Linked DNA regions of Homo sapiens: region 1 is linked to region 2. The links are contacts of gene promoters, found by promoter capture Hi-C in blood cells and fetal thymus (Javierre and others, 2016). All regions are on one chromosome and are shown on one strand. Each heading gives the region's core, a stretch centred on a gene start or on the middle of the fragment in contact. The rest is flanking DNA. Distances are from core to core; before and after follow the strand shown.

The links. The method cuts DNA at HindIII sites, captures the fragments that hold promoters and counts their contacts. A CHiCAGO score of 5 or more calls a contact.
Region 1: a contact is called between a fragment that was not itself captured here and the fragment with the promoter of PRDM15 in region 2, in 1 of 17 cell types (naive B cells). The highest score is 6.0, in naive B cells.

The regions. Positions count from the first base shown.
Region 1 is chr21:42,084,186-42,087,554 of GRCh38, reverse strand. UMODL1 (uromodulin like 1) reads right to left here. Exons shown (of 23, transcript NM_001004416.3): 3 at 3,310-3,369; 4 at 2,143-2,264. Among named protein-coding and RNA genes, the nearest start is that of UMODL1, 15 kb to the right of the region's middle. The HindIII fragment of the contact is 1,006 bases long and covers 853-1,858 here.
Region 2 is chr21:41,877,468-41,881,082 of GRCh38, reverse strand. PRDM15 (PR/SET domain 15) reads left to right here and starts at 1,739. Exons shown (of 24, transcript NM_001040424.3): 1 at 1,739-1,813. RefSeq lists a silencer at 1,616-1,665 and enhancers at 1,816-1,865, 2,866-2,915. The HindIII fragment of the contact is 16,753 bases long and covers 1-3,615 here.

The DNA of each region.
Region 1 (3,369 bases), core at 106-2,605, 210 kb before region 2:
GGTTTAATGATCACTTTCCTCATTTCATATGCAGTATTTTTATTTCAGCTTAATATCTTGAAATCTCAACCCTTGGGAAGCCAGGTGAACTGGCAGCTGCACAGCCAGACCAGTGGTCACCAGAACAAACTTTGCCAGCAAACCCCCAAGCCTCCACTGGGAACTCCAAAGGAGGTTTGGGGAGAGCAGGAGTCCTCCGATACACACTTGAAGCCCCTTCCTGGGAGGAGATGCAGCTCATAATTTAGCATACAGAACTGGGAACCAGCCCCGACCTCATCGGAACCCCTTATTCAGCAGCAGAAGCAGGCCTCAGAGACCAGCCCCTGCTGGTGCCTGACCCCTGTGCAAGGCAGGCGCTTCTGCAGGGGGTAATGGGCTGGTTGGAGACATGAAACCTACATGCACGAGGAGACAGCAGGTGTCACGCAGCAATATTGAAAACACAACAACCACAACATCTCAGGCCCCACACGCATCAGGAAGCTCAGGAACCATCTCAAGCTCTTTACATGTATGATTTAAGCTCATGGCCCTGTCTCAGGCAGGGTTATGATTATTTCTATTTATTTACTTTTTATTTATTTAGAGACAAGAGTCTCGCTCTGTAGCCCAGGCTGGAGTGCAGTGGCACGATCTCAGCTCACTGCAACCTCCGCCTCCTGAGTTCAAGCAATTCTCCTGCCTCAGCCTCCCCAGTAGCTGGGATTACAGGCACGTGCCACCACGCCTGGCTAATTACTGGATTTCTAGTAGAGACAGGGTTTCGCCATGTTGGCCAGGCTGGTCTTTAACTCCTGACCTCAAGTGATCCGCCTGCCTCGGCCTCCCAAAGTGCTGGGATTACAAGCTTGAGCCACCACTCCTGGCCGATTATTTATGTTTAATGGAGGAGGTATCTCAGGCACAGAGAGGTTAAGTGACTTACCCAAGGTCACACAGCTGATGAGTGGCAACACTAGGGCCAGGCAGTGTGGCTTCAGAGCTAGTTTCTTACTGGCCAATTGGGCAGTCCCCTTAACAAGCTAAGAGGAAACAGGAATCACTCCTAGCCCGGGCTGTTAAGGCCGAGGCTGCAGACTACCTGTCTAGCAGCTCACTGGCCAGCAGCCCAGAACAACATGAGGTGTGCACCATCTGATCTGGGCTGCCAGCCAGCTTAGTCTAACGGCCAAGGAGTGACCCAACCCTGGGTTTGACACCAAGACACCCAGGGACATATGGGACACACAAAAGATCTGAAGCACAGAACAGCTACACAGATGCCAAAGGAAAATGCGGGGCCCCTTGTCTGAAAAGTGTTCGGCATTTCCAGAGGCAACAGCAGCACATTAGACCAAGCTGAGGCCCCTCTGAGCACAAGCCCCTGTCAGCAGCCGGTCCTGAAGCCAGACCATCCCCCAGGGAGGGCGGCCTTGGGGACACGCGGCAGCCTTGGGGACACGCAGCGCCCTGTCCACACTGGGATTCCCGAGACTGATGGTGGCCTGAGCTGGAGAAGACATCCTGGTTGGTAATCACTGCTGATGGGCCAGAAAGCATGACCTGTGTCATCAGCAAGGGTCAGCCAGGGTGTTTGTTTTTATCCCCAGGGGACAGTGGGCGACGTCTGGAGACAGTTTTGGATGCCACCCTGGGGTGTGCTTCTGACTTGTGTGGAGAGGCCAGGGGCGCTGCTAACCATCAGACCCCAGGGTGCTCTCCAGCCCTGGGCTACGGTTCCCATCTCAGCACTCCCAGGTTGGTGCTGGCTTCCACGAAGCAGGAGCCAGAACTTGAAGAAATTGGGACTGAGGGTGGTGAGGGAAGAGCTCGGGGCTTAGGCTGTCTTTGCTGGGACTGCAGACCCCTGCAAGCTTAGGGATCCGCGTTCTCCACCACGACAGGCGGGCCTATGAGGGTACACACATAACAACTCAGCCAACTACACGCTTCAGTTGTGTGCATTTTGTTGCATGTAAATCATACCTCTTTGAAGCTGATTTTTTAAGAACTAGAATTTCGTTCAGAGTCAGTCATTTGGGGCCATTTGGGGAACATCACCCTCCCCAACCCCCAGGTCCCTTCCACGGCCCCATACCTGGGTCTGCCTGAGCAGCTGCCACAAGGAGGGTGCAGGCAGCCCCCGTCTGTCTCACCTACCAAGGAATGCAGAAGGCGCATGTGGTTCAGGAGCCTGGGGTCCACTTGCTGGAGTTCCTTGAAGTCCATTTTCACCAGTATGGTGACGTTGTACCAGGAGCCCACAGGGTCCCTCTCTGGAGCTACACAAGGGAAAACACTGATGATTATGGACCCAGGACAGGTTGAAGTCACAAAAGCTGCTGGGGTGGGAGAGGGGGCAGGAGAGGGAACCAGAGGCCATGAGAGGCCCTGCTCTGCATTTACCTCCCTGCAAAAAGACATCTACCACAGGAGACGGGGGATGTCCTCACTGCCCGCCCCTCGCTCCTCTCCATCCTAATGTCCCTGAAGACCACCGATCCCTGCTCAGAGGTGAGCTGGGCCTGGGACCCACAGCAGCAGGCCTTCCCTTGAAGAGATCTGCTTAGGAGGTAAATAGAGCCTATCAGCCTCATTATACTGTCATAGTATGTTGATATAGAAAATTACTTTATACTTTGTCATTATTTTATTGATACTACAAATATTGGATAGTATAATCATATGTAATATGATATATACTATATAATAGCATGTAGTATAATGATATAGTATTATCATAATATCTGATATTATGTATACTATTGCTTTATTACTGCATACCATACTAACGCTATAATATATAATATTTTAAATATTAAATAATATGTAACATTATACATATATATATATGTATAGGCCATCCCATTCTCCCATTCTCCTGGATGCAGACCCCAATCAAAAGAGAACTTTCCAGACCAGCAGGCGCATATCTGAGGTGGCAGGGCCTGCCTACGGGTGCTGTGGCGCTCGTCAGGCCCCTGTGGCACTGCAGGCACAGCCAGCTCCACACCTGCAACTAATCTACCTGGAGCTCCTGGCCTCTCCAGGCAAACTGGGAAATCCGGGTCTCTGCTCCACCAGAAGTGTCTTCCCATTTCAGGGCCCCTAAGAGCGCCATGAGATTTCTCCCCCGAGAGTTCAGTGGCCAGATTTTGACTAAGAAATTATCTAAGAGCAGGTGCTGCCTGTGCACACGGTGGGGGCTCCTGATGAAATCGGTCACTGCTCCTAGAAACACACTCCCCCCCACACCTTCACACAGATCAGGCCTCACCGAGACCCGCCTTTGCTGCCTGTCCATAAGCATGGCCCGCAGCAGCCTACCTTGGGGTGCAGGGGCCATGCAGTAGCGCCCCCCTGACCAGGGGCAGCACTTCTCAAGTC
Region 2 (3,615 bases), core at 490-2,989:
TGAGTGATGTCACTGGAGGTGCGTGTATAGAGGGAATGTCCATTAGCTGTAGTGGTGGTGGTGGGAGTGGGGTTGGGCGGAGACCTGAATACAGAGAAGGTTGTGGAAAACCTGGGAAGTGTTTGAAGATAGAGTACAGAAGGCCTTGGGAACAGGCTTCAGGGACAGGAGGCTGGAGGGAGGCATGAAGTCGCAGGTGGGGACAAGCAGGGAGACAGTGGACGCCGGGGATGCTCCAGAAAGGTCTGGGGGGCCATGGGATGGCCTACTATAGTGCAACATGGAAGCCACTGTAGAATGCTGGGCCAGGCAGAGAAACCAGCCTTCACAGATCAACACTTGCCTAATCTGTCTCCGGCTGCCCGGCGTTGCAGCCTATGGATGTGCCCAGGTGCATCCAACACTTCCCATGGGATGGCACGTAGTATGTAAGCAAATGTGATGATCACATATGCCATTCATACAAGCGAGTCCGTCTCTGGCACCATTCCTGCATGTGGGTCAAAGGCTATGTGCATTTAGAATTTTTATGGATATCCACAAATATCTGAATGGAAACTACGCTAATTTATTCTCCTACCCGTAAAGGAGCTTGTTTCTCTAGTTTCTTCAAAATTATGCTATTAAAACTTTTTTTTGTTTGTTTTTGTTTGAGACAGGGTCTCACTCTGTTGCCCAGGCTGGAGTGCAGTGACACGATCACAGCTCACTGCAGCCTCAAACTGTGGGACTCAAGTGACCCTCCTGCCTCAGCCTCCTGAGTAGCTGAGACTACGGGCACGTGCCACCGAGCCCAGCTAAGTTTTTTAGAGACAAGGTCTGGCTATGTTGCCCAGGTTGTATTAAACGTTTTAAAAAATCTTTGCTAATCTAATAAAAATGATCCCACTGCGACTTTTTTTCTCTTATTGCAGCGTAGTTGAATAGCTTCTCATATGCTTAAGAACCATTGAATTTCCTACGAACTGTCCATCCACACACTTTGCTCATTTTTCTATATACATATATATTTTTATTGGTTCACAAGAGTTTCACGTACATGAGGGAAACGAGCCCTTTTGTGGCATCAATTTAAAATCATTTTCCCCGGTTCATCACTTCTCTTTATGAATGTAGGTTTTTGCCAGGCAGCAATGAACAAGACAGTCGGCCTCTCTGAATATGGGCGGCCAGGACTAAGGTGAAAAGTCTGTCCCTTCTCCGTCTCACGTTTTGTGATGGCACACACACTTGGTGGAGGGGGTCAAGAGAGGCCACACAGGCCCCCGGGGAAGAATGGAGAGCCAGGTCCGCGGCTGGCCCGGTGCTCACCGGTAGCGTGGCGGAGCCCGCCAGGCCAGACTCCCCTCGCGGGCACAGAGCTCGTGTCCCAGGGCCCCGCCGGCCAAATCCAGAGGTCACCGTGAGTGGGGGCAAGTCCCAGGCCTGTTCTAGAGAAAAACTCGACCCACCCACCGCCACCACTCCCCAACTCCGCAAGAAACGCGTCCGAGGAGAGGTGGAGAGGGAGCTGCCCGCGCGCGTGGGCGGCAGGGCCGTGCCACGTGGGAGGGGGGCCGCGCGCGGAATTCCCTCCGGCCAGACCCGCCCCGCGCGCGCCCGCTGCCCCGTCCACGCCGCCCGCGCCCCGCAGTCCCACCCGCAGGACCCCCGGCCGCGCCAGGGTCTCGCCTGCGCCCCCCGCGCCCGCCCGCGGACTACAAGTCCCGCCATGCCCCGCCGCCGCCCCCCGGCTTCCGGTGCTGCGCAGTTTCCGGAGCGGATCGCAACCCGGAGTCCGGATCCGATCCCGCTCTGCACATTCCAAAGGCAGGTAAAGCTCCGGGCCCTGCGCCCGCCGCCCGCCCCGGCGTGCGCCCCGCCGGCCCCGGGCCGCACCCGCTGCCCCCGCGAGCCCCGGCGCGCCCTGGGCCCGCTGCCCCCCGCCCCCCGCGCCCGGCAGCCGCGCGCCGCCCCGGTCCAGCCGCCATGCCGACTGTTCTTTGTTACATTCGCCGGCTGCGGGCACCGTTGGCGATCGGAGTCAAAACCCGGCTGGATTTCCCGGAGCCGCTCCGGGATCGCCCTGCGCGCCGCCCGCCCGCCGGGTCCCGCCGCCGCGGGCGCTCCTGGCCGGGCTCCGCGCCCCCGTCCCCTGCCTCGCGCCCCCCGCCCGCCCGCGGCCAGGCCCAGCGCGGGGCCGCGGGGCTGCCGGGCCGCGCTCGCCCGTGGGCGCGGCGCAGGGTCTTCGCCGCCCCGGCCCGCGGCCCCGCGGCCCCCGCCGCCGGGCGGCGTCGTCGCCGAGGCCCCAGGGGATGTCGTTATCCCCCGCCCTCGGGTACAGCCCATGCGGGTCGCACGGGGGGGTCCCTGGACCCCCAACCCCGCGTTTAGAGAAGCTGAGTCCTGGTGATGGGGTCTCCCAGACCCCCTGCGCCTTATTTTCGTAAGCCTTTTGGTGGCAGAGAGAAGGTAGCGAGGTGGATGGACAGGTGACGCGTGCCTACCCGGGGTGGGTGGCCGTTCGGGGACGGGGCGTGCCCGGCCGCTCAGGTGAGGCCCGCCTCGCGTGGACAGGTGGGGACGGGGGCCACGCGCAGCGTCCTGCTAGAGGGGAGGTGTTCACGCAGGGGTTAGCCTTGAGAAAATAGAAATGAAAACTCATGGAAATAAACACTCCTATCTGGTGGTTAGAGTTATCACCCATTTACCTTTCTTAACCCCCTAATGTAGTGGATGGTTTTTTCCCCCACAAATGCTCAGAAATTGCCCCTCACCCCCAAGTCCCCAAAGGGAGTTTAAAACGGTAGAAACAAGTGTGTGATCAGAGACACGTGGACCTGTGTGTGTATTTAAAGCTACCAACACTCGTTTTAAAAAAACCACATTGGCTTAAGCCAGACTCAAGTGAATTTGGAGAACCTAGCTTGGTTCCTGAAGGGTGGTGACATGTGAAGGAGCCACTGGCTTTGTGATGTACCTTAAAAGGTAGCAGTGACAGTTCTCCTTGGAGAATGCAATGATGTCAACACTCGATAAGGGTGGTGATCCCACCCCGGTGCACACACCACTACCGTATTTTGTTTCAAGCTCGGACATTTTCACGTGTTCCACGTTTTCACTGCTTCACTCCTTCCCCAGATTTCCTGACATCGCTGCCTCACGGTGAACGATTAAGAAATAGTAGCTCTATAATTTAGACTTTCAAGAGCAAAAACACCATTTTTTTTATAGTTTGTTTTTCTTCTATCTGTGATTCATACTTTTTGCCGCAAAGTAGCCAGCAAAGAACAAGCTAAATGTTCCATTTTGGAAGCAGGCGGGACGGTTATTTCTCCAGAAGACAAATAAATAAATTTAAAAATCAACTGTAGTTGGAAGGCTGCTAGCTTGTCTTAGAATAATTATATTTGACAAAGAACTCTTTTCACTTAGGATGTGGCTCTCATATCATTTTCGATGTCATTATCTGTACAGAAGGCCAGGAAAGAACAGTCCTGCCATTTTGCAGATTGAAGGGAGATTTAAGGCAACTGTGTCTTCCACCCGTGCGCTCAAGAGGTTGGGATGGTGAGCGGTGACTTAAATGATTTTTCAGACTCCGTTCCTCATTTGCAAAGTGTGGATGGCCCTGCT